Regions from separate parts of the Homo sapiens genome. Here regions 1, 2, 3, 5, 6 and 7 are each linked to region 4. The links are contacts of gene promoters, found by promoter capture Hi-C in human tissues and cell types (Jung and others, 2019). All regions are on one chromosome and are shown on one strand. Each heading gives the region's core, a stretch centred on a gene start or on the middle of the fragment in contact. The rest is flanking DNA. Distances are from core to core; before and after follow the strand shown.

Region 1 (3,352 bases), core at 510-3,009, 180 kb after region 4:
GCTAAATTGAGCAGAAGGTACAGAGTGCCCATTTATCTTCTGCCCCCACACACCCACACCCTCCCCCAGTGTGAACATCCTGCGCTGGAGTCCACCAAAGGGATACGTTTGTTACAATCAAGCAGCCTACAGTGACACATTCTTATCACCCGAAATTCATAGTTTACATTAAGCTTCACTCTTGTGTTGTATGTTCTGTGGATTCCGACAAATGTATAATGACCTGTCCACCAATGTAGTTATCATCGTTTCACTGGTTTAAGAAACCTCTGTGCTCCACCTGTTCATCTCCCTCTCTGCCTCCTAAACCCTGGCAACTGTTGATCGTTTTACTGTTTCTGTAGAATGCCTTCCAGCTGGAATCATATAGTATGTAGCCTTTTCAAATTGGCTTCTTTCACTTAGCAATATGCATTTAAGGTTCCACTGTCTCTTTTCATGGCTGGATAGTTCATTTCTTTTTAGTGCTGAATAATATACCGTTGTCTAGCTATGCCACAGTTTATCTGGTGTATTGTCATGCTAGGAACCCCTCTCCCACCCCCACATTACAAACAGACTGATGTCTTCTGTCGTCTTCTCCTTTTTTACATCGTTGTTTCAACTGAAATTATTGGATTATATTTTTTCCTTCACTTACATTAAACTCATACATACTTTGTGCCTGGACTTCATTCTTTTCAGTGTACCTGGCTCTATATTTATTCTTTTAGGTGAATCTTAGATTTGTGGTAACAAGTTCTGTCCAAAAGTATCTCAATTCAGATTATACGGAATTCGTGTTTATCTACTGAGTTTTCATTTACGTTTTATATTGAACAGCTTTTTGTCTGGGAATGTACCAGGAGTGAAAGGTTCAGGAATCTCATACTGTAATGGAGAGACAGAAAAAATGAACATGTGAGCAAATAATTTATGTGTAGTTTTCCTAGGCAACTCTTCCTTTTTAGAGGTAGAAACACTGGGGTCTACAGAAGTAAAGTCAAGTGTTTAAGGTCCCATAGCCAGTTATTACAGTAGCCAAGTTTTAGCTAGATCTCTTGTCTCCAGACAATATTTACCACACCTGTCTGCCTTTGTAGGCTGCTTCATTTAATAAACTGTAATTCAACGCTTAAAACATTAATACTATACTAGTTTTTTTGGGCTGTGTCTAAGTAAAACCCATTTAATGAGAGATATAACTTATGGGATATGCCTAGAAAATGTGGCCTGTAGAGAGACATTTCATGTTGAGGAAGCGTAAATAATTCCCAATAACATAGATTAGAACAATGAGTTTAAATATTAAGTGATCATGGAAAATTACTTGATGAAACCATGGCTTGAGATTTCAGCAACAAAGGAGTGAATGAAGTACAATCTGCCATCATGTGTAATCTGGAGGGTGGCAGACTGAGAAACTGAAAAATGTTCACTTATTGGAGAAGAGTACAGTTGACTCATATGATTTTTACATCAAGCATCTCCCATGTACCACTGAGTCAGTATTCTGATGTTCCCGTTGGGACTCAGCAGAAGGTGCTAGCTTTCCTAGGTAGAAACAAAGAGTTGAAGATGGTTGACATTTGATTGAAATGTGGAAGAATGAGTAGGAGTTTGCTGGCTGGACCAGGGGCATAAGTGCACACTAGACAGAAGAAATGATAGCATTTCCTTTTTTTTTTTTTTTTTTTGAGATAGAGGTCTCGCTCTGTTGCCCATGCTGGAGTACAGTGGCGTGATCTTGGCTCACTGCAACCTCTGCCTCCTGGGTTCAAGCAGTTCTCCTGCTTCAGCCCTGCGAGTAGCTGGGATTACATGCGTGTGCCACCACACCCGGCTAATTGTGTGTTTTTAGTAGAGACAGGGTTTTACCATGTTGGCCAGGCTGGTCTTGAACTCCTGACCTCAGGTGATCCTCCTGCCTTGGTCTCCCAAAGTGTTGGAATTATAGGCGTGAGCCACTGCGCCCGGCCAGCATTTTCATTTTTAAAGGTGTGAAGATGTGGAGAGGAAATCCAGCACTTAATTTTGGAGATTTGCCTGACTGTGACAAGTGTTGTCCTGGGGCAGAGAGAAATGAAACTAGAAAGGCAGGCCAGCTTCTTAAAGGTTTGGAGGATCTCTTGACGGAGTTTTAGCTAGAACTGATATGATTTACACTGAAAAGCTCTTGACAGTCCTGTGGTTTAGAGAAGAGTAGAGAAGAGGTTTATTGGTGGTAGTAAGGTGTTGATGCAATTCCAAGTCAGAGAAGTTGATTGCCTAACCGGGTCAGTGCTGTTAAAAGGCGGCATGATGGAAATTCAGGAAGTCAAGTCAGGAGTATCTTAACTTGCCCCAAAGAGATGGAGACCATAGAATTGTGGGCTTAGTGACTGGTTCAGGCAGCCTTTAACATGCCTGTAAAGACTATTAAATGCCGTTAAGTATAGGTGCACTGTTCCATCATTTACTCCACACGTTTCTGTTGAACCCCTATGAGGCACTCCGTTGCTGTGATACGGTATCATCTCTCCTCAGTCCCCACTGTGATATTGTGCAGCCACCCTTTGCATGGATTCCACACCCTACCTCTGCACATCCTGTTTATACCATTCCAGGCTGCCCGCCTTTGGGGACTCCATCCTCATTCCAGTTGATCTGCACCCTAAATGCCCACCTTGCTCAGCCCTACCCACCAGCTTTAGGATACCACCTCTTGCCTTCATGCAGACACCACTGCACTGCGCAGTGTACTTTTGACAGTCCCCTCTTGTCACTGTGCTTACGTGTAGACCTACCTCAAGTTTGGACTTCGTTTGTTTAGAGAAGCAGCTGAACGTTAACAAAGTGGGCGTATTAGAGTTTAAAATATATGTAGAGTTTAGGCCAGATTGTAGGCCCAGTCTGGTTCCTTTTACTGACTTAGGAAAAACAAAGTTTACCCAGGCACGTGTGGTTAAATATAATGCAAAACTGTGGTCCAAGGGTCTTAATGAAATGGATAGATTAATCTGAGGATTTTTTTTTTGTTGCTTGATTATTATTATTTTTTTTAAGGTAGGGCTTGAAAAGAAGGGGAGTGGAACTAGAGGGGAAGCTCGGGTATAGCCTTGTCTGTTGTTTATAGTCTGCTTTTTAAAAATATATAATCAACTAAATTGCTCATGCTGAATGATGTTGATAGTTCCCAGAAGGAGCAAATTTCTCAGATGGGCTGCTGTTGCCTTGGGTGTAGAATTTAGCAAGGTGACTTTTGGCTATTGGATATCCATAGAAACAGATGGTCTTGCTCATTTATGCATTATGCATTTTATAAGTTATATATAGTAAGTGTTTGTGCAGTTATTTAAGTGTTTGCATTTTGGGTTTTTTATTTTATAAAAAT
Region 2 (3,699 bases), core at 272-2,771, 250 kb after region 4:
AAGAGAATACTTCATGAGATATTTTCAAAGAGAAATGGGATCTTAATAATCTGGGGCTCATTACACTCCTAGGCCATGAAATCTTTATACATCTCTGCTGGAGGTGCAGAGCAGCAGCCGGGCCTGGAGGACTGTGAACTTGGAGCGTGAGTGAGCAGAAGGTGGTGGCTGTGCTGTGTTAGAGGCTTCATTTCCTTGTCTGGGGTCCTGAGTTCAAGGGTGAGGCCACTTCCCAGGTGAAGTCACGGGAAGGAGCAATTCCAACAATGGCCATTGACAATGAGGAGAACGGAGGCAGGCTGGACACAGTCACCAGACTGCGAGAGCCGGCCTGAGGAGACTTGGAAACTGTCCTCCGCCAACCTGGCTGAATTTCACTCTTACTAAAGTTAACCCCACTCGAAGACTGGGGAATTCCAGCACCTCAGGGGAGAGGCTGAGTTATTTTTGCAACCCCAAATTAAATGATGCATGGTCGCTGGCTGTGCATGCCACGGGGCTTGATTTCCATTCCCCTGATTCACTCTTCCCTCCTCCAGGGCGCTCAGGCTCATGGAAACTGAGGGAAGCTCAGGGCCCTGACGACCCACCAGGCCCTGGCCAGGACACTGCATCCTGCTGGAAAGGAATGCCCCGTGAGGGGCTCACGGTGGATTTTTAATCCCTGTTCAGGTTCCCTGCCCTCACCCGAAAGGCCCCCACCCTTGAGCTCCCCCGGCAGCCCTGCATCTCTCTGGGGTCTTCCCAGGATGTGCTACAGAAGCCCCAAGCTGCACACGACCCAGCTCCTCACAGGCCTTTCTCCCAGACCCACTCTCCTTAGGCCCCCTGCCCTGGGTGTCTGGGCCAGCCAGACCGCTTGCAGCCTCAGCAACCCCCAACAGCCAGCTGATCATCAAATCCTGTCAATGACAGATCCTGAGCCCACCTCAGACCAACCCCTATGACCCACTTGCCAGTTGGAGTCCTGGCCTCTACTCAGACCCTTGACATCACTGTCCTCCGGTCTGACTGGTGGCCACAGTGGCCACCCACTCTGCCTGCGCCTGCCTTGGTCCACACTACCAGGAGTTTCCTTCCTGAAGAGGATCCAAGGATCCCATCACACATCTCAGCAGCCTTTGCCTGGACCCCTCCAGATAGGATTCAGACCTGCCCCTGACCTCCCTACTGGCCCTCTGTGTCCTGAGCACATGGCACCCTGGTATCTCTCTGCCACAGCCCATCTTGGGTCTGCTGCCTGAAGACCCCTCCTCTCCTCCCGAGCATGGAGGGCCCTGGGTGATCTTAAGAGGCGGCGGAAGCATTGCCTCCTTTCAGAGCCTTAGCAACTTGATGGACGTTATGGAATAAATGAATGAGTTCTTCTCCAAAAGAGGGAGCAGGGGTTCTGTGTTCCTTCTGTCCACCATCATCACGGAATCAGAGCACATCTGAGATGGGGGGACACAGCAATCCTTTGCTCCTCTTCATTGATTACAGGGAAACTGAGGCAGAGGTGGAGCCAGCCCCTGGCCTCCTGACTCCCAGGACAGGCCAGAGGCTACGAGACCACAGCCTCCCGAAGGGGACTCCCAAACTGCAAGACCGGACCCTGGGCTCCCCATGGCTGGAGCAAATGCCTCTGTATGTCCTCCCTCTGGAAATTCCTCCCCGAGGGACCCTCCGGAGAGAAGGATGTGACACTAACTCAGGACTCTCGAGGGTTCTTGGGGCACCTTTGAGAAGAGTCCAAGGCACTAAAATAGACTGGGTTCCCAGGAGTAAACAACCAAAAGGCTTAGTTAGACTCCTACTTGGAAAGTATGCCTACCTGTATCCCTATGCTGCTTAAACACCCCACCTCAGCAGAACCCCGCTAGGCACTGGGGCCCGGGTTCCCTGCATCTCGCCCACTGTGTCGGCTAAGACCATTTCAGCTGCAAGTATGAAACCTGACACAAATGGCTTGCGTGATAAGGAAAGTAGTGGCCTTTTCCAAGGAAGGACTCTTGGCTCTAGGCTCACCAGTTTGGCCCCTTGGTGGCATCTGCCTCCCTGCCTCCCTCCCTCCCTCCCTCCCTCCTTCCTTCCTTTCTTCCTTTCCTCCCTCCCTCCCTCCTTCCTTATTTCTTCTTTCTTCTTCCTTCCTTTCTTTCTTCCGGCAGAGTCTTTCTCTGTTGCCCAGGCTGGAATGCAGTGGTGCAATCTGAGCTCACTGCAACCTCCACCTCCCGGGTTCAAGCAATTCTCCCATCTCAGCCTCCTGAGTAGGTGGGATTACAAGGGTGAGACACCATGCCCGGCTAATTTTTGTATTTTTAGTAGAGACGGAGTTCTGCCATGTTGGCCAGGCTGGTCTCGAACTCCTGAACTCAAGTGATCCACCCGCCCCAGCCTCCCAAAGTGCTGGGATTACAGGCGTGAGCCACCACATCTGGCTGGCTCTTGGTGGCATCTTGAAGGCCATTTTCTCACCCTTTATCTCTGCCAAGCTCAGTAGATAGGATTCTGTGTGTCTTCTTTTGACCCAACCATCAGCAGCAGCAGGGAAGGCATCTTTGCCTCTGTCTTTTCTTTCTTTTTTTTTTTTTTAGATGGAGTCTTGCTCTGTCTACCAGGCTGGAGTGCAGTGGCGCGATCTCGGCTCACTGCAAGCTCTGCCTCCTGGGTTCACGCCATTCTCCTGCCTCAGCCTCCCGAGTAGCTGGGACTACAGGCACACACCACCACGTCCAGATAATTTTTTGTATTTTTAGTAGAGACGGGGTTTCACCGTGTTAGCCAGGATGGTCTCGATCTCCTGACCTCGTGATCCGCCCGCCTCGGCCTCCCAAAGTGCTGGGATTACGGGCGTGAACCACAGCACCCGGCCTTGCCTCTGTCTTCTTATCAGCCAAGAAGCCTTTCCCAGCATTCCTCAATAGCCACCCCTCACATCTCATTGGCTAGGATTGGGTCACATGCCCCAGGCTAAGCCAATCATTGTCTAGGAGAATCATTGGCTTAGCCAATCAGAGCCTATGCCTGAGGCACACAGGGCAATGCCTAGACCACAGGACAAAATTGGGCTTTGTCAGCAAGGAAGGAGGGGTGGCTGTTGGGTGGCCTGTGAGGCTGTCACCCATGTCCCCTCGCTTGTTCTGACAAAGGTTTTCATAAAAGAGCCACTTCTAGCCTGTCGTGGTGGGACCCTCAGATGTCCCTGTGCCCTCCAGCGTCTGGGCAACCTGAGGTTCTGGTAGGAGGAGAAGGCTACTTTGTAGAAGTCTGGAGGGCCTGGAAGAAGACATCTCTGCCCAGACAGTCCATTTAGTGTAGCTCGGGCCACCCCTTGCCATCCCGTGTCTAGCAGGTGGCCTGGTGAGTGTGGACTCGTCAGGAGCCGGGCCTCTCTTCCTGCTATCGCCCTCAGTCCAGCCGTGAGCTCAGCCACCACCTCACCAGTGCACACATCGGCCAGACAGCCACCAGCATTGCCTGCCTTGGGTGCCATGGGGGTTTGGCCTGAACTCTTCACCAAGCGCGGCTCACGAAGGAGCTCACTTCATCCTCACACCAGCCCCAGGCGTTGCTGACATCCAGAGCTGGGGAAAGGGCAGGACAGAGGTTGAAGGAAGTCACCCAGAGTCCCACAGCTGGAACGTGGGGGAGCTGGGATTCTAACCCAGGGCTCACACTGTCGCCCACACCCATCCAGGTGAAAGTTTGTTTTAAAAA
Region 3 (3,459 bases), core at 321-2,820, 200 kb before region 4:
AAAGTCTAACACAGGGCCTGGCAGAGCAGGTGCTCAATAAATACTTGTTGGGGCCAGGTACAGGGGCTCACGCCTGCAAACCCAGCACTTTGGGAGGCCAAGGCTGGAGGATCACCTGAGGTCGGGAGTTTGACACCAGCCTGACCAACACGGAGAAACCCCATTTCTACTAAAAATACAAAATTAGCCGGGCGTGGTGGCACATGCCTGTAATTCCAGCTATTCGGGAGGCTGAGGCAGGAGAATCTCTTGAACCCGGGAGGTGGAGGTTGCAGTGAACTGAGATTGTGCCATTGCACTCCAGCCCGGGCAACAGGAGGGAAACTCTGTCTCAATACATACATACATACATACATACATACATACATACATACATACATACTTGTTGGATAATCAAGAAGCAATGCCACCTGCCACTTGTCACCTGCTCTGTCATTCCTTTCTGGCAGGGGCAAGCCCAATTTTAAATGACTATTGAGGATCCAGGACAACCTTTAACTCTTGATAAAATTAAACGGGCTGGTGAGAGAGAATCCTTGCTTACTTGAGTTTATAGAAGCCATGTGGCCTGTTCTTGGAGACCCAGAGAGGAAAAGGGCTTTGTTTGCCAAGGTTCCTCACTTGCTGGTGGCTCCCCTGGGCTTGGATCCTAGTTCGTGGCTTCCAGTTCCCTGTCTTCTACTGCTTATTATTATTATTGCTATTTTTTTTTTGAGATGGAGTCTTGCTCTGTTGCCCAGGATGGAGTGTAGTGGTCCCATCTCGGCTCACTACAACCTCCACCTCCCGGGTTCAAGCGATTCTCCCGCCTCAGCCTCCCAAGTAGCTGGGATTACAGGCACCCGCCATCACGCCCAGCTAATTTTTGTATTTTTGTAGAGACAGGGTTTCACCACATTGGCCAGGCTGGTCTTGAACTCCTGACCAAAGGTGATCTGCCCGCCTCTGCCTCCTAAAGTGCTGAGATTACAGGCGTGAGTCACCACGCCCAGCCTATTATTATTATTATTAGTTTATTTATTTTTGGGAGAGATGGAGTTTCTCCAAGTTGTCCAGGCTGGTCTCAAACTCCTAGGTTAAAGCGATCTGCTCGCCAAGGCCTCTCAACGTGCTGAGATGATAGGTGTAAGCCACTGCGCCTGGCCTTCTACTGCTCTTTCCTACATCTAACAAAGACTTTGGGCCTGGCGCGGTGGCTCCGCCCAAAATCCCGGCACTTTGGGAGGCTGAGGCGAGCAAATCACCTGAGGTCAGGAGTTCAAGATCAGTCTTGCCAACGTGGTGAAACCCCGTCTCTACTAAAAATACAAAAATTAGCTGGGCTTGGTGGTGGGCGCTTGTAATCCCAGTTACTTGGGAGGCTGAGGCAGGAGAATTGCTTGAACCTAGGAGGCAGAGGTTGCAGTGAGCCAAGATCACGCCATTGCACTCCTGCCTGGGTGGCAAGAGCGAAACTCCATCTCAAAAACAAAATAAAAAAGACTTTTGAGACTTTGTCAAAACTTCGCAATAATGTACGTGCTTCCAGGCCAAGGCAGGTGGATCACTTGAGGTCACGACTTCAAGACCAGGCTGGCCAACATGGTGAAACCCCATCTCTACTAAAAAGACAAAATTAGCCGGGCGTGGTGGTGAATGCCTGTAATCCCAGCTACTCAGGAGGCTGAGGCAGGAGAATCACTTGAACCCGGGAGGCGGAGGTTGCAGTGAGCCGAGCCAAGATCGCGCCATTGCGCTCCAGCCTGGGCAACAAGAGGGAAACTCCGTCTTAAAAAAAAAAAAAAAAAAAAAAAAAAAGGTCTTCAGAGTGACTTTAGTCCATTATGACTGGCGTCTACACAAAAGGGGCGATTTGGACATAGGGACACACAGGGAGAACAGTATGTGAAGATGCAGGCAGAGATCAGAGTGAAGCTTCTACAAGCGAAGGAAGGCCAAAGTTGGCCCGAAATCCACCAGAAGCCAGGAGACAGCCTGGGGCGGTCTCCGTGGGAGCCTCCGAAGGAAGCGACCTTCCCGACACCCTGACTTTGGACGTCTGCCTACTAGAACTGTGAGGCCATATATTCTGTTGTGTGGCCACCTACCTTATAATACTCTGCTGTGGCCGACCTGGGAAACTAACACAGCGGGTCGTTACTGTCAGACCAAAGGTTCCAACTTATAAACAGAATGAAACATTTCGTAAGTTGAGTTTAAAGAAAATGGATTATTTAAAATGCACATGGGCCCCCCGCCCCACATTAAAAAAACAAAAAACAAATACAAGGCGGAGGTTGCAGTGAGCCGAAATCGCGCCACTGCGCTCCAGTCTGGGCGACAAGAGCGAGACTCCGTCTCAAAAACAAAAACAAAAGCAAGAAAACAAGCCCGAATGGTATTCTCTACCACTTAATTCTGAAAGTATGTAGATTCGTGTTTTCGTCACTCAGAGAATGAAAATTAGCGTTTGTTTGTCTAAGAGCTCTAAGACGGGGTGAGAAGTGGAGGAAGAGGTCCAGAGGAGGAAAGAAAACTGCTCGCCCGCGCCCGCCCTGCAGCTGCACGTGGGTCGCCCTAAGCCTGGGTTCGGAGCTGATGGCGCAGGTCCCAGGTGCCCTCTAGCGGCTGACGTCAGTCACGGCGCCCCGGCCCCGGCGCGCCCCGTCCACTCTGCCCACTCGGGACGCGTGGCTTGAAGTCCCGGGAATGCCACGGTTGCACCCACAAGGGTCGATCAACTCGGCTTCCTTCAGGAGACCTGGACTGACCACCCGCTGTGTGCCAAGCACTGTTTAGGTGCTGGTAAAATAGAGCCCACTGCTCCTGGAGTTCGCTCTAGCGGTGGGAGGCCGACGATTAGCAGCGGGAATAAGCGATGGAGGGGGGTCGGGCCGGGAACCGCAGGGATCCTGGGTGCGGGTTGCGATTGCAAATGGGGGCATCGGGTAAACCTCGCTGAGTAAGTGACATTTAAGCAGCGACCACGACGAGGAGGAGGAGCTTTGACATTGTCTGCAGGAAAAGTGGTCCAGGAAGAGGAACAGAAGCGCAAAAGCCCCAGCACAGGAGCAAGGGCCAGGGAGGAGGCGGAGGGGCTGCCGCGGAGGGAGCCGGGCAGGGGTGCAGGAGGGCAGAGGGGAAAGGCGCAGGTCCGGTGGTGTCTTTCAACGGGATGTTACCCTGGGCGTAGGGTTGTCAGATACAGCACATGTATTCTTTTAGTATAAGTATGTCCCAAATATGGCGTGGGACATACTTACACTAAAAAAAGTTTCATTGTCCTTTTGCAATTCAATTTTAACCCGGCATCTTGATCTATATTTGCTAAATTTGGCAGGCCTGTTAGGGCTGCAACAAAAGGAGAGAGTGTGAGCAGAGAAATGACTTGATCTGACTGTTTTAAACCCATGTGACTCTTACCTATTGCTATGCCAGAGAGTGTGCTAGGTTCTGGGCATTCATTCAGCTGTAAGCAAA
Region 4 (3,552 bases), core at 46-2,545:
CCTGCACCGCGATCACCTAGTTCCGGGGATGTGGGTATATCACAGTCCCTGGCCGAGCCTCAGCTTTATCTGTAAGAAAGGGGAGGGGTGGACGACGGCTGTGCGGGCGGGGTGAGCCTGGGGCGTGGCACCAGCCCTCTATCCAAACATGTTTGCTTACACGTTAGCTCCTGGGAGGAGATAGGAGGGTGAAAACAACCTGGAGACCGGTGTGCACCGCACTGCACAGTCTGCCATCCTCTTCAGGTCCCATACCTCTCTTGATCTCCCCGACTACTAGATGAAGCGGGTACTGCCATCCCACTTTCCAGCAGGGCACAAGCTTCTCCAATTCTCCAAGGTCAGCAAGCCACGGCAGAGCCAGGCCTAGAACTCAGGTCCCCTGCGTCTCAGTTTGGGCTCATTCCAGAATTGGTGGGGACCCCCAACCCACAGGCAATCGAGCTTAGGCCCTGACCCTGCCCTCTGAGTCCCCAGCCCCGACCTGAGCCTAGGCGTCTGACCTCTGGCTCCGTCCCAACCTCCCTACTGCCTTCTTTCAAGGGTAAGCCCTTGGTCACAAGGGGCCTGGGACAGAAGGCAGGCCGCGTCCACACACACTGACTGGGTCACTATCACTGGCAGTAACTGAGTTAAAGAGAGCGGCGCGGTGCGGGTAGGCTGTGGCCCGTGGGCAACACCGTGACTGGAGCCCCTTCCCCAAGCCTGGGCCTCCGGGCCCCAGATATGCCCTGTGCCGGCACGCGTGGGGCGCCGGGCGGGTTACGTAAAGTTCGGCCTCCCCACGTCACCGGGCAGAGTCACGGCCGCGGCTCGTGAATAAGGGGGTTGGGCCATCGAAGGCAGCGCCGCGCCCGGGGCCACCCGCCACCTCCTACCCGTCCCCTCCCGGCCTGCACGGCCAGACGTCGGGCGGCGGAGGGTCGCGGGGCCGAGCGGGGCGTCCGCGCGCAGGTGGCCGGCGCAGCGAGGGCTGCACCTGCGTGCGCGTGTGCCGGAGGAGGAGGGGGCGGCGGCCGCGGGCGCGGCGCGGGGGACGGGGACTCACCATGGGGGGCGCGGGGGCCACAGGCCGGGCGTCCCCGCCCCTGCCGCGGACCGGAGCGCGCGCTGTCCCCCGCGGGCGAGCGGGCAAAGGTCCCACGACGGACGCACGGGAGGGAGCCACCGCCGCCCGCGCCCGCCGCAGCCGCGCTCTGAGCCGCCGCGGCCGGATCGCAGGGCGGCGGTGCCGTCGCCGGCGGCGGGCGGCGGGCGGCGGGCGGCGGGCGGCGCAGTGCGGCCCCGGCCAGGCAGGACAGCGGGACCGTCCGCCGCCGCCATTGGCCCGCGCCGCCGGCCCCCGCCACCACCCATTGGCCGCCGCGCTGCACCATTGTTACGTCACTGGCCGGCGGGCGGGGCGCACCGCTGGACCCGCGGAAAACTTCGGAGAAACTTGAGGGAGCGCCGGCGGGGAGAACGGAGAGGAGGGGCGGGGCCGTGGCGAAAGGGGCGGGGCGTTGATGGGCGGGGGCGGGGCTCCCGGAACCCGAGCTGCGGGCGAAGAAAGGCTCCGAGCTCCGAGCTGCCCTAGCCCGGGAGGGCGCCGCTGCTCTGCGAACTCGGGCGCGCGCGTAGGTGGCCCGCCCTCCGCCGTGCGTGACTTTCCTCGTCGCGTCCAGCTCCCCTTTTCTTTGACCTTACGTGACCTTGGGAAAAACCTCCAGGCTGCTACCCCATCTGCACATGGGAGGGCCGGGGGTAGGAGCCGCGACCCCTAAGGGCTCCACCGCCTTCTGCCCGGCCAGGGTCGTGCCTGGCGCGCCCCCGCTCCAGCTGACCCGCGCAAGGGAGGGAGGGGCGGACGGATGGGGACAGCTGTTTAGGAGCGCGCACTGCGCCCATCTCGGCCTCAACACTCATGTTTCCACTTCGTTTCACGACCACCAGCCACAGTGGACACGATGATCCCCAGTTCACCCGCCAGCAAATCAGGGCTCAGAGAGGTGGCCTCAAAGAGAGGAGCGGCCAGGAGGGAAGCCGGGGGTTTGCCCTGCGGTTCTTCCCACATCTGGGCGGGATAGATTCGATTGGGCCTCGGCCACCCCCACCGTCTCCGTCGGGGGTTCCAAGGTTTGGGGTCATGACCTAGGGGGCTTAGGAGCCTGGGTCCATCTCAACTAATTTATGGCCTCACTCGCCCCCAGCGGCTGGGAATTCTAGGCCCATTTTACAGATGTGGACGCAGATCTGGAGAGGGGCAATGACTGCTCAACCCCCCACCCATCCTCCCAGACACGACCTTCCACCTGGAATCCCCCCACACACGTTCTCAGAGGCCAGGCAGCCGGGGTCTCATGGTGAAATCCCCACATTCCATGCAGGGGCTCTTTCTGGTTCCTTCCCTAGAATGCTGTCCCTGCCCTTCCAGTACTATCTCACCAGGGAGACCCTCCCACTCCCCCACTCCGCTCCAACCAAGCAAGGCCTCTGCCTCGCCCCGGTGGGAGGGGCCTCGTCCAGAGGGCACGCCCCTGCACACACAATCAGCCCTGTCCTGGCTTCTCTGTGTGCCCCAGCCAGTCAGTCTGGGTGGAAGTCTTACCTGGGCCCTCTCAACAGACCTAGGCAGGCCTCTGTCCCCAGCCCAACGAGCTCAATCCCTTAAGCACACACGCCACAGAGCAGTCCTGAGAGGCCAGGTGGACAGTACCATGAGGCAGACAAAGCTGTGAGGCCCAGAGAGGGTCAGGCCACCCCAGCCCAGGTAGGCACTCACATGTATCCTGCCCAGGCTGCCATGCATGGACCCACCAGGGGGATGACCAGACCCCACCAGCCCTGCCCCACCTCAGGGCGGGGGACGTTCCAGGCCACGCCATCTCTCCCAGGGAGTCCATGGCAACTGCCAAGCTTACAGCAGCCAGGTTGTCAGCAGGAGTAGGGGTATAGAGGGCACTGGGCCTGGCATCCGCACCCGCCTTTGCCTCAGCTCCACATGTCTCCTCCTGTATCTAGGCCTATCTCCCTAGGGCTTCTCCCATCTGCCGGTTCTGGATGCCTCTGAGTACGATGGTGGGGAGAGCAAAGTGAGTGAAGGTCCTGGAGTCAACAATCGGCCTTTGGGAGCCCAAACCCTGGGGGACATCTTGGGGAGATGGTGCCCATGTGGGCTGTCTGTGGCTCAAGGCTCCCCTGCTCTCTTGCCCTCTTCGAAGGCTGGAGTTGAGATACAGCCGTCTCCATGGCTACTGGTGGAATGAGGGTGAAAGGGCACCAGTGGATGCCAGGCTGTGCACTGGGCCTCAGGGCGGGTCTCTCTCCACCCCTTGATGTCTTCCCTGCCCCCGTGCCCTGACCTGCCCTCCTCACTGGGGATCCCAGAGGGTTTTTTTTTTTCCCAAGACAAAGTCTCATTCTGTCACCCAGACTGGAGTGCAGTGGTGCAATCTCAGCTCCCTGCAACCTCCACTTCCCAGGTTCAAGCAATTGTCATGCTGCAGCCTCCCAAGTAGCTGCAATTACAGGCATGCACCAGCACTCACAGCTAGTTTTTGTATTTTTAGTAGA
Region 5 (3,892 bases), core at 955-3,454, 200 kb after region 4:
TAGTTATTATTTTAAGCCTATAAAAACAGAAGGGTCTAAATTTATCTAAACTTTAAAATGACATCAGTAATATATGTTTCTTATAGACAAGGTAGGAAATACAGCTAACTGAAAGAAGAAAATTAAAGTGATTTATAATATTATCCATAATCACTGTCAACCTTTTGGTGACTTTTTCCTGAGAACTCTTTCTGTAAAATGTATATGCCTGTATATTCATAATTCTGAATCTAGTCACTTTTTAAAAATAATATAATGGAAGCTTTGTAATTTTTAGAACCTTTTAAATTTACTCTACCTTGATTTTTTTTTTCTCTTTTTTCTTTTTTGAGACAGGGTCTCCTGTGTCACCCAGGTTGGAATGCAGTGGCACCATGACTCACTGCAGCCGCCAACTCCTGGGCTCAAGCAGTCCTTCCACTATGGCCTTGCAAAGTGCTGGGATAACAGGCATGAGCCACCTCCAGCCCTTGATTTTATTTTTTTTTATTTTGTTTTTGAGACAGTCTCTCACTCTGTTGCCCAGGCTGGAGTGCAGTAGTATGACCTTGGCTCACTGCAACCTCTGCCTCCCAGATTCAAGTGATTCTCCTGCCTCAGCCTACCGAGTAGCTGGGATTATAGGCACATGCCACCACGCCCTGCTAGGTTTTTTTTTTTGTATTTTTAGTAGAGATGGGGTTTCATCATGTTGGCCAGGCTGGACCTTGAATTTTTTTTTATGTCAAATATATTTGTATACGTAGCTATATATTATTCTGTCACATGAATGTTTCATAATTGAGTTACCTTATCCTATGTGGATTTCCCAGTTGTTTATTCCTCCTGTTTTTTGCTTTTATAAACAATGCTGGATTGATTCTCACATAACTCACTATCTGTGCTCATAGATTTTTTTCATTAGAACCGATTCCTGGAAGTTGTATTGTTGAGTCAACGTGTTCTAGATACATTGTTAAGGCTTTTTTTTTTTTTTTTGGTTGTATATCACCAAATTGGAAATTGGTCGTTTTTTTCTGCATAATTTATATGAATGCCCAAATAAGATCCTGAGGGTTAGCTAAATTAGATTGTTTGGGAAATCAAATTGTAGTTGTAGTTTTTATTAAGCTTTGTGTTGATGTATTGCTATTTACTAGGTTTTTCAGTGGCACATTTTAAATGAGAGAAAACACTTGATTTCATACATTTTTATAATTCTTATTTATATAATTTCTGATTCAGAAAGAAAATGGCTAAATCATTGTTTTTTTTTTTTTTTTTTTTTTTTGGAGATGGAGTCTTGCTCTGTTGCCCAGGCTGGAGTGCAGTGGTCCGATCTCAGCTCACTGCAGCCTCTGCCTCCCAGGTTCAAGCAGTTCTCTGCTTCAGCCTCCCAAGTAGCTGGGATTACAGGGGCCCGCAACCATGCCTGGCTAATTTTTGTATTTTTACTAGAGACGGAGTTTCACCATCTTGGCCAGGCTGGTTTTGAACTCCTGACCTCAAGTGATCCACCCACCTCGGCCTCCTAAAGTGCTGAGATTACAGCCGTGAGCCACCACACCTGGCCCGTAGTTTCTTTTTTTTTTTTTTGAGACGGAGCCTCACTGTGTCGCCCAGGCTGGAGTGCAGTGGTGCAATCTCGGCTCACTGCAAGCTGCGCCTCCCAGGTTCATGCCATTCTCCTGCCTCAGCCTCCCGCCATTCTCCTGCTTCAGCCTCCCAAGTAGCTGGGGCTACAGGCGCCCGCCACCGCACCTGGCTAATTTTTTGTAGTTTTAGTAGAGATGGGGTTTCACTGTGTTAGCCAGGGTGGTCTCAATCTCCTGACTTCGTGATCCGCCCGCCTCAGCCTCCCAAAGTGCTGGGATTACAGGCATGAGCCACCATGCCCAGCCACCTGGCCCGTAGTTTTTTTAAGTATTAAAATGATACTAGAACAGACGTAGTCAGTTGGTGATCTTTATTAAACATCGTAGTCCCATACACAGCAGTTTATTGCCTACTAATATTTTTGTATTACCCACTTGTTGAAGAAATTATCACTACCATTATAGTTTTGCAGTGTCTTTAGCTCAGTCTTTTAAAATATGAAGCAGAAAGTCATATTTTCAGCTTTATCAGTGAATGCTAATGCACTAACAAGATGGAATTATGAGCAATTATAAAAACTTCTTGTTCTTAAAATGGTTACCAGTAAGTTATATTCTTTAACTTGACAAGATTTTACTGTGTTTCATTTCTGAAAGTTTTGGTTTTACAGAAATTAATAGCCGTCATGCATTTTAAAATGATAAGGTATATTATTTTAGAGTAAGTTATATAAGTTGCCGTAAAAATTGTGTTATCCAAAAATGTGTATAAAAAGCTGTAATTTCATGTAGCTAAATACAGATGTGTGTGTGGCCACAAAACTCATTAGCAGAGAATACAGATTTTTTTCTTTCTATATTACTAGAGGAAGCTGAGAATTCTTATTTTCATTGGCTTGAAACGATAGAGTAAGGAAGTATTTGTACAAGAAGGAGTGGAACACAGTTTCATTGTGTTTAGTCAAAACTCAGTAGCCCAAATTCTGTCTGTGAACTGCCTGTTAGAATTTATAGATCTCATTTGGTTCTGATAGGGCATGGTATTTGTCTTAGATTGTTTTGGTGCCATGTTAAGGAAATAAATATGTTTATTACTGATCATTTGACTTTTTTTAAGTTTCATTCATCACCTGTGTATATCATGCAGGTTCCCCCTACTGAGACAGTTCCTCAGGTCAAAAAAGAAAAACATAGCACACAAGCTAAAAATAGAGCAAAAAGGAAACCTCCAAAAGGAATGTTTCTTTCTCAAGAAGATGTGGAGGCTGTTTCTGCCAATGCCACTGCTGCTACCACGGTGCTGAGACAACTAGACATGGAATTGGTTTCAGTCAAACGACAGGTACTCATAAGCCTGGTCTTGGATGTAAAAGAATTAATTAGCACTTTAGAGGTGTTTCTGTTATTCATATATGTGAATGTTCTCTTTCCGCAAATCTCAAAGGAGCATTTTGTTTCGAAGGAATTGGACAGATCTTAAGTACCAGCCCATTGTTTTTCTTTTTAATGAACATATAAATTGAAGTGTATGGATATAGTGTGATCTGAAAGTATTTCTGAAGTATATAGCAAAGCATATGAATATCATATTTATATTATATATGTGTCTGTGTCTCCATGATTTCTCACAATATGAACATACCCTAGTAACCTGCATCTGGATCAAAAAATGGAATGTTGCCCCCAGGCCCATGCATTTTCCCTCCTGGTCACTATTCCATGGAATGTTGCATTCCCTCAGCAACTCCACCCCTCTTTTATTACCTGACTCCTCCTTGTAGGTGGCCACTATTCTGATTTTTTTTTTTTTTGAGACGGTGTCTCGCTCTGTCGCCCAGGCTGGAGTGCAGTGGCGCGATCCCGGCTCACTGCAAGCTCTGCCTCCCCAGTTCATGCCATTTTCCTGCCTCAGCCTCCCGAGTAGCTGGGACTACAGGCACCCACCACCACGCCCAGCTAATTGTTTTTTGTATGTTTAGTAGAGACGGGGTTTTACCATGTTAGCCAGGATGGTCTCGATCTCCTGATCTCATGATCCACCCGCCTCGGCCTCCCAAAGTGCTGGAATTACAGGCGTGAGCCACCGCGCCCGGCCCTGATTTTTTTTAATTTTATTTTGTTTTTGAGACAGTGTCTTGTCCTGTTGCCCAGGCTGGAGTGCAGCGGTGCGATCTTGGCTCACTGTAACCTTTGCTTCCGGGGCTCAAATGATCCTCCCATCTCAGCCTCCCAAGTAGTTGGGAGTACAGGCGCTTGTCATCACACCTGGCTAATTTTTTGTGTTTTTGGTAGAGACGGGGTTTTGCCATATTCCCCAG
Region 6 (3,523 bases), core at 880-3,379, 160 kb before region 4:
CTCTCTCTCTCTCTTTTTTTTTTTTTTTTTTGAGACGGAGTCTTGCTCTGTTGCCAAGCTGGAGTGCAGTGCCAGGCTGGAGTGCAGTGGCGAGATCTCGGTTCACTACAACCTCTGATTCCCTGGTTCAAGCGATTCTCCTGCCTCAGCCTCCCAAGTAGCTGGGATTGCAGGCATGTGCCACCACGCCCAGCTAATTTGTGTATTTTTAGTAGAGACGGGGTTTCACCATGTTGGCCAGGCTGGTCTTGATCTCCTGAACTCGTGATCCGCCCACCTCGGCCGCCCAAAGTGCTGGGATTCTAGGCATGAGACACCGCACCAGGCCTGACTCTCTCTTATTAACTGCCTTTATTTACGGAAACCTCCTTGACTTCCTTGTTTATAAAATGGCAACACAGAAAGGGAGCCCTACACACTTCACGCAGAAAGGAAGGAAACGTGGCAAGCTGCCATTGACGGTCCCTCAGTGTGGACCAGGCTCTGTCCTAAGCCCTGTAACTGCATGATGTGTATGGCTACTTGTGGGAGACACTAAACCAACCCCACTGCACACACCAGGCAGCACAGAATAGGGGCAATGGCGGGCTTACTTTCACAGCTTGGTGAAGAGGATTAAGTGAGTTAGTATTTGTGAAGCACCTACTTGGAGATATATAAGGGTTGGATAAAGAAAATTAATGGGTGAAGTAACTAGGATTTCAGATTTAAGTAGCATAGGTCTATAAAGACCAAATTTTGAACTCCTAAGTATAGTTGACTTTACATACATAAATATGAAAAAGGGGAAATAAGAAAAGATATATAAATTGTCAAATATCTTAATTCCTTTACTTGGTCCTTCCAACCACCCTCCAATTACATTGGAAGTGGCAAGCACTAAATTCAGCTAACGTTAATTTTTAAAGGACTTTACTTAAGTAGTTTCCCAAATCTTTTAAGGTTTGATATTTTATTTGGCCCAACCCCAAGAGGCAGGACTTGTCATTTCCGTTTCACAGCTGGGAAATTGCTTAAGGTTGAGCTGAGGAAGGATGAGGCCAGAACTCGATACCATGCCTTCTGACACCAAGTTTTTTTGTTTTTGTTTTTGTTTTTGTTTTTTTTGAGACAGAGTCTCGCTTTGTCACCCAGGCTGGAGTGCAGTGGCGCGATCTCCGCTCACTGCAACCTCCGCCTCCCGGGTTCATGCCATTCTCCTGCCTCAGCCTCCCAAGTAGCTGGGACTACAGGCGCCCGCCACTGTGCCTGGCTAATTTTTTTGGTACTTTTAGCAGAGCTGGGGTTTCACTGTGTTAGCCAGGATGGTCTCGATCTCCTGACCTTGTGATCCGCCCACCTCAGCCTCCCAAAGTGTTGGGATTCCAGGCGTGAGCCACCGCGCCCAGCCGACACCAAGTTTTAACACCCAATCCTCTGCTCTTTCCTGTGAGTCCTGCAGCAGCTCCCTGGTGCCACCTGATTCTAAGAAAAGCTGATAACAGGAGACTAAGGAAAATTCTGGAGCCTTGACCCCAGGCAAGAAGTCATGCTCAATCCTGCAGCTCAGCCATCAATAAAGAATTCAAGTCACATAGGCACGTGCAGCCCTGAATGAACAGTGCATAAACAGCAGGCCCTTACATTTCAACATCGGTGGCTTCTTCCCACAGCAAACACAGACCACAGTGAAATGTTAGCCCAGCTTAGGAAGAACGGTGCATGAAACCCCCAGAAGGTCAAAGTTATGAAAGACACAGACCAGGTCTGGAAACCATTCTCTATAACGGATAGAGGAAAATAGGAAAAATAATAATACCCTATAAAATCAACTTTTGGTTTTGAACATAGAATGAGAACTTATTCCCAAACCACTTTTCTTTTTCTTTTTTTCTTTTTTTTGACACGGAGTCTCACTCTGTGGCCCAGACTGGAGTGCAGTGGCTTGATCTCGGCTAACTGCAACCTCCGAAAGTGATTCTCCCGCCTCAGCCTCCCAAGTAGCTGGGATTGCAGGCACCTGCCACCACCCCCAGCTAATTTTTTGTATTTTTAGTAGAGATGGGGTTTCACTATGTTGGCCATGCTGGTCTCAAACTCTTGACCTCAGGTGATCCACCTGCCTCGGCCTCCTAGAGTGCTGGGATTACAGGCATGAGCCACTGCGCCTGGCCAAAACAAAAATTAAAAAAAAACAAATAAAAATACAACAATTAGCTGGGTGTGGTGGCAGGCACCTGTAATCCCAGCTACTTGGGAAGCTGAGACAGGAGAATCACTTGAACCCAGGAGGCAGAGGTTGCAGTGGGCAGAGATCACCCCACTGCACTCCAGCCTGGGCAACAAGAGTGAAACTCCATCTCAAAAAAAAAAAAAATTAACAAATGGGAGGGAGGGAACAAATCTCCCACGCAGAATAATTCCAAATAATTTATGTAGATACTGCACCCTCAAGCAGGTGGTGAATACGTCCCTACCCCCAGGTGTGGGCTATGCATAGTGACTTCCTGCCAAAGAGCACAGCGTGGGAGGAGGAGAAAGAGCAACGTCACAGCAGAGGAACCTGGAAACACTGCCCAGCCAGGTGATCAAGGTCAACTTCAGCAGTGGAAAGTCCTGGCTGTGCACAGTGGCTCACGCCTGGAATCCCAGCACTTTGGGAGGCTGAGGTGGGAGCACTGCTTGAGCCCAGGAGTTTGAGACCAGCCCGGGCAATAGGTGGGACCCAAAGAAAAGTCCTGATGACAGTATATCCAGTACGTGCCCTTGATATGACATGATAGAAATGGCACTTTACTTCTGTGGTCCTCCTCTGAACAAAACCCGTAACCTCAGTCTAATTAGGAGAAAAACATCAGATAAATCTCATGATGTTCTACAAAATACCTGACCAGTATCCCTCAACATTGTCAAAGTCATCAAAAACAGGGAAGTCTGAGAAACTGTCACGGCCAAAAGGAGCCTGAGGAAACAAGGGGACTCGATGTCATACAGGATCCTGAAGCCAAAACAAGACATGACGGAAAAGCTAAGGCAGGGCGCCAGGGCTCACACCTGTGATCCCAGCACTTTGGGAGGCCAAGGTGGGAAGATCACTTCATGTCAGGAGTTCGAGACCAGCCTGGCCAACATGAGAACCCCGTCTGTACAAACGAATTTTAAAAATTAGCCGGGCATGATGGTTCATGCTTGTAGTCCCAGCTACTCGGGAGGCTGAGGCAAGAAGATCACTTAAGCCCAGGAAGTAAAGGCTGCAGTGAGCTGTGATCATACTACTGCATTCCACAGCGAGACCTTGTCTCCAAACAAACAAAAAGGTGAAAATATAAAGATCTTAAATGTTTATGGGTAAGCTTCAGTTATCCAAGTTCAAATATGTGTAAAACCTGATTTCCTGTGCCTAGCAAAGAAATAAGGTGGTGTTATCTTCACATCTGGTGGCCAGTATGGTAGGTATTGAAATTTAGTTATTAGTTCATTAAACAAACACTTTAGTCTCTTACGTGCTGTATCAGGGATGGGCAAACTATCCCTGGAACACAGG
Region 7 (3,508 bases), core at 565-3,064, 160 kb after region 4:
ACAGCAATAGTAATCATATATACTCTTGCCATTCCCTTTGATTTCTATCTTTTTGATTACCCAACGTCAGAAGCCAAAAATTTTGGAGTCATAAAACGTTTTTTGGTCCCTAACATAATTAAGTTAAATTTACTCATGCGTAGCATCTCAGGATATATTGAAAGTATGGGTGGCCAGTCCATACATTTAAGAATAAGAATTATAAGAATTTAGAGACAGAGCCTTGCTTTGTACCCCAGGCTGGAGTGCAGTGGTGTGACCTCAGCTCACTGCAACCTCTGCCTCCTGGGTTCAAGCAATTCTCCGGCCTCAGCCTCCTGAGTAGCTGGGATTACAGGTGTGTGCCACCATGCCCGACTAATTTTTATATTTTTAGTAGAGACGGGGTTTCACCATGTTGGACAGGCTGGTCTCAAACTCTTGACAGCAAGTGATCTGCCTGCCTTGGCCTCTCCCAAAGTGCTGGGGTTACAGGCATGAGCCACTTCACCCGGCCAGAATTTACCTTTTTAAAAAGCTTTATTTATTATCTTTTTGAGTCCTACTGATGAGTAATTTGGAGTTTCATGTGTCCTTTTTATATAGGTATTAGAGTATGACAATGACATCTATAATGGGATAGAATTTAAATTTTAAAGCAAACCAAACAGCTGTCCTATTTATGAGTGCTAACTTAAAGATGGTTTGATAACATGAAGGTAACGGTACTATGAATGTGAATGTAATGACCCTATATATACACAATAAATATACACAATATATATACAGTTCTCTGTTTATACTTTTCAGCTTCAGTTTTCTTGTTCTGAATTTAAGCAAGAAGGTAGCATTTAATTCATAGCTTATTGTGCTACTCCTGTTTTCATACCTCTTCCTTAAGCTTCTGGTAAAATTAAAACATTTCAAGTAGAGTTTAGGATTGTAGAAAACAAGGCATGTTGTTAAAACCTGTAATTGTGAGCGTGTCTTAAAATGACAAGATTATTATATATATATATATATTTATTTATTTTACTTATTTATTGATTGATTTTGAGATGGAGTCTTGCTCTTGTCGCCCAGGCTGGAGTGCAGCGGTGTTGTCTCAGTTCACTGCAACCTCTGCCTCCCGGGTTCAAGCAATTCTAGTGCCTCAGCCTCCCAAGTAGCTGGGATTACAGGCACCTGCCACCATGCCTGGCTAATTTTTGTATTTTTAGTAGAGATGGGGTTTCACCATGTTGGCCAGGCTGGTCTTGAACTCCTGACCTCAGGTGATCCACCCATCTTGGCCTCCCAAAGTGCTGGGATTGCAGGTGTGAGCCACCGCACCCAGCCCTATCTTATAATTATTGATAGCAAGAAAAGCATATTCACCATTTGTTTCAGTTCTCATTGTTTTCGCTTCCCCTTCTGTGTTTATCCATTTGGCCATTCTCTTTCTTGTGTTCATCTTTCTGTTCTGACTCAGGTCATTGAGGATATGGTTGGACCCTGAATGGTAGAAACACAACTCCCTCTTCCCCTCGACTCCACAGACTTAATGTGATTTTTTAGGGTATAGGGGAGGGGGTTATGAGAATGTGGGAACCCAAGCAGGTGTTCTAATGGCTGTGGAGTAACCTGTCTTCTCCTTCCAGTTAGTTTCTGTGTTTTGTTTGTTTGTTTGTTTTAAAGAGACAGGGTCTCTCCCTCTGTCGCCCAGGCTGGAGTGCAGCAGGGTGATCATAGCTCACTACAGCCTTGAACTCTTGGGCTCAAGCAATCCTTTAGCCTCACCCTCTGAAGTAGCTGGGACTACAGGTGCTTACCACCATATCTGGCTAACTTTTAAAAACTTTCAGAGATAGGGTCTCACTGTGTTGCCCAGGCTGGCCTTGAACTTCTGGCCTCAGCTGATCCTCCCACCTCAGCCTCCTGAGTAGCCTTGCTTTTTAAATAACAGCTTTACTACAATAAAATTAACAAAACACGCAGTTCACTTATTTAAAATATGCAAAATTCAGTGGTTTTCGGTATATTCAGAGTTGTGTAACTATCACCACAAATCAAATTTAAAACATTTTATCATCCCATGAAGAAATGCTGTACCTGTTAGCAGTGGCACCCTGTTATTTCAAATGCCCTACAGCCTCTGGCAATCACTAATCATCTTTCTGTCTGGACGGTTCATGTAAATAAAATCATACAATAGGCTGTGGATTTTTGTGCATGTGACTGGCTGCTTTCACTTAGCATAGTGTTTCAAGTTTCATACTGAGCATGTGTTAGTGTTTTATTTTCATGGCAGTATAAAGTTCTGTCATATAGACATACTGCATTTTTTTATTCAATCGGTTGATGGGCATTTGGGTTGTTTCTACCTTTTAGCTGTTGAGTAATGCTGCTATGAAAATTTATATACAAATTATTATGTGGATATATGTTTTTATTTCTTTGGGCTGTATACCTAGGAGTGGATTTTCTGGGTTATATGATAATTTTTTTTCTTTTTTGAGATGGAGTCTCGCTCTGTTGCCCAGTCTGGAGTGCAGTGGTGCGATCTCGGCTCACTGCAAGCTCCACCTCCTGTTACGCCATTTTCCTGCCTTAGCCTCCCGAGTAGCTGGGACTACAGGCGCCCGCCACCACACCCAGCTAATTTTTTTTTGTATTTTTAGTAGAGACGGGGTTTCACCATGTTAGCCAGGATGGTCTCCATCTCCTGACCTCATGATCCGCCCGCCTCGGCTTCCCAAAGTGCTGGGATTACAGGTGTGAGCCACCACGCCCGGCCTCTGGGTTATATGATAATCTTTTGAGGAATGGCACCATTTTATATTCCCAACATTTTAGCCAAATAATCTGACTAAAAACAGGCAAAAGAGCTGAATAGACATTTCTCCAGGGAAGATACTCAGATGGCCAATAAACTTATCCAATATGCTCAACCTCTTTATTCAGGGAAATGCAAATCAAAACCACAGTGAGAGACTACTTCACACCTGCTGGCTAGAATCAAAAAGTCAGATAATAACAAGTGTTGGTGAGGATGTGTAGAAATTGGAACTCTCATACCCTGCTGGTGGGAATGTAAATGTAAATTGCTGTTCTGCTCCCAAACAGTTGACAAGTAAAATATAGCATTATAGAGTGAGAAATAACTCAGAGTTTCAGAGTAGAACTGAAAATATACTAGAAGAGTATTTTCCTTAGTGTTGGACTAGATGATTTTAAATTTGAACACAGACATTGTATCAGGTAACATCAAATCATACAGTGAAGGGTTTCTCACAATGTACACAAAATAGTATTTGTCTGCTTAACACTGGGATTTGCAAAGAACAGTGAAATATTACAGTGTTACAAAGCAAGATCTTCCTCTCTTTAAATGCCTGTTAACCTGATTTTAAGAATATCTTTATTGTATACATCTTATTCTTTAAATGTACCCCATAACTAATAGTACCAATTTTATGTTTTCAACATTTAAGTTATGATATTATACATTTCCTTTAACTTGCTTTTTCTATTCAAACTGGTTGATAGC

What was found. Contacts are between HindIII fragments. The study calls those that stand out against the background at their distance.
Region 1: a contact is called between a fragment that was not itself captured here and the fragment with the promoter of ANKRD9 in region 4, in 1 of the 25 tissues and cell types used here (IMR-90 fibroblasts).
Region 2: a contact is called between a fragment that was not itself captured here and the fragment with the promoter of ANKRD9 in region 4, in 1 of the 25 tissues and cell types used here (mesendoderm cells).
Region 3: a fragment that was not itself captured here is called in contact with the fragment with the promoter of ANKRD9 in region 4 in 1 of the 25 tissues and cell types used here (heart right ventricle).
Region 5: a fragment that was not itself captured here is called in contact with the fragment with the promoter of ANKRD9 in region 4 in 4 of the 25 tissues and cell types used here (IMR-90 fibroblasts, dorsolateral prefrontal cortex, hippocampus and 1 more).
Region 6: a contact is called between a fragment that was not itself captured here and the fragment with the promoter of ANKRD9 in region 4, in 6 of the 25 tissues and cell types used here (H1 embryonic stem cells, dorsolateral prefrontal cortex, hippocampus and 3 more).
Region 7: a fragment that was not itself captured here is called in contact with the fragment with the promoter of ANKRD9 in region 4 in 1 of the 25 tissues and cell types used here (heart right ventricle).

The regions. Positions count from the first base shown.
Region 1 is chr14:102,686,308-102,689,659 of GRCh38, forward strand. The region is part of intron 3 of RCOR1 (REST corepressor 1); the gene reads left to right. Among named protein-coding and RNA genes, the nearest start is that of TRAF3, 89 kb to the right of the region's middle. The HindIII fragment of the contact is 4,511 bases long and covers 1-3,352 here.
Region 2 is chr14:102,754,423-102,758,121 of GRCh38, forward strand. It overlaps LOC124903390 (a long non-coding RNA gene), which reads left to right. Exons shown (of 2, transcript XR_007064356.1): 2 at 1-3,699. Among named protein-coding and RNA genes, the nearest start is that of TRAF3, 21 kb to the right of the region's middle. RefSeq lists enhancers at 42-241, 312-481, 3,374-3,699, 3,402-3,661. The HindIII fragment of the contact is 8,282 bases long and covers 1-3,699 here.
Region 3 is chr14:102,311,770-102,315,228 of GRCh38, forward strand. No RefSeq gene overlaps it. Among named protein-coding and RNA genes, the nearest start is that of TRI-AAT5-4, 3.6 kb to the right of the region's middle. RefSeq lists enhancers at 2,414-2,914, 2,808-2,887. The HindIII fragment of the contact is 3,723 bases long and covers 1-3,432 here.
Region 4 is chr14:102,508,481-102,512,032 of GRCh38, forward strand. It overlaps ANKRD9 (ankyrin repeat domain 9), which reads right to left and starts at 1,296. Exons shown (of 4, transcript NM_152326.4): 1 at 1,049-1,296; 2 at 161-366; 3 at 1-69. It overlaps LOC105370679 (a long non-coding RNA gene), which reads left to right and starts at 1,563. Exons shown (of 4, transcript XR_007064352.1): 1 at 1,563-3,071. RefSeq lists silencers at 84-245, 1,240-1,679, 1,840-1,889 and enhancers at 1,370-2,013, 2,014-2,659, 2,660-3,303. The HindIII fragment of the contact is 3,197 bases long and covers 87-3,283 here.
Region 5 is chr14:102,711,702-102,715,593 of GRCh38, forward strand. It overlaps RCOR1 (REST corepressor 1), which reads left to right. Exons shown (of 12, transcript NM_015156.4): 8 at 2,722-2,916. Among named protein-coding and RNA genes, the nearest start is that of TRAF3, 64 kb to the right of the region's middle. The HindIII fragment of the contact is 8,777 bases long and covers 1-3,892 here.
Region 6 is chr14:102,350,796-102,354,318 of GRCh38, forward strand. All of the region lies in intron 3 of CINP (cyclin dependent kinase 2 interacting protein), which reads right to left. Among named protein-coding and RNA genes, the nearest start is that of CINP, 10 kb to the right of the region's middle. The HindIII fragment of the contact is 9,147 bases long and covers 1-3,523 here.
Region 7 is chr14:102,669,757-102,673,264 of GRCh38, forward strand. The region is part of intron 2 of RCOR1 (REST corepressor 1); the gene reads left to right. Among named protein-coding and RNA genes, the nearest start is that of RCOR1, 79 kb to the left of the region's middle. The HindIII fragment of the contact is 3,276 bases long and covers 177-3,452 here.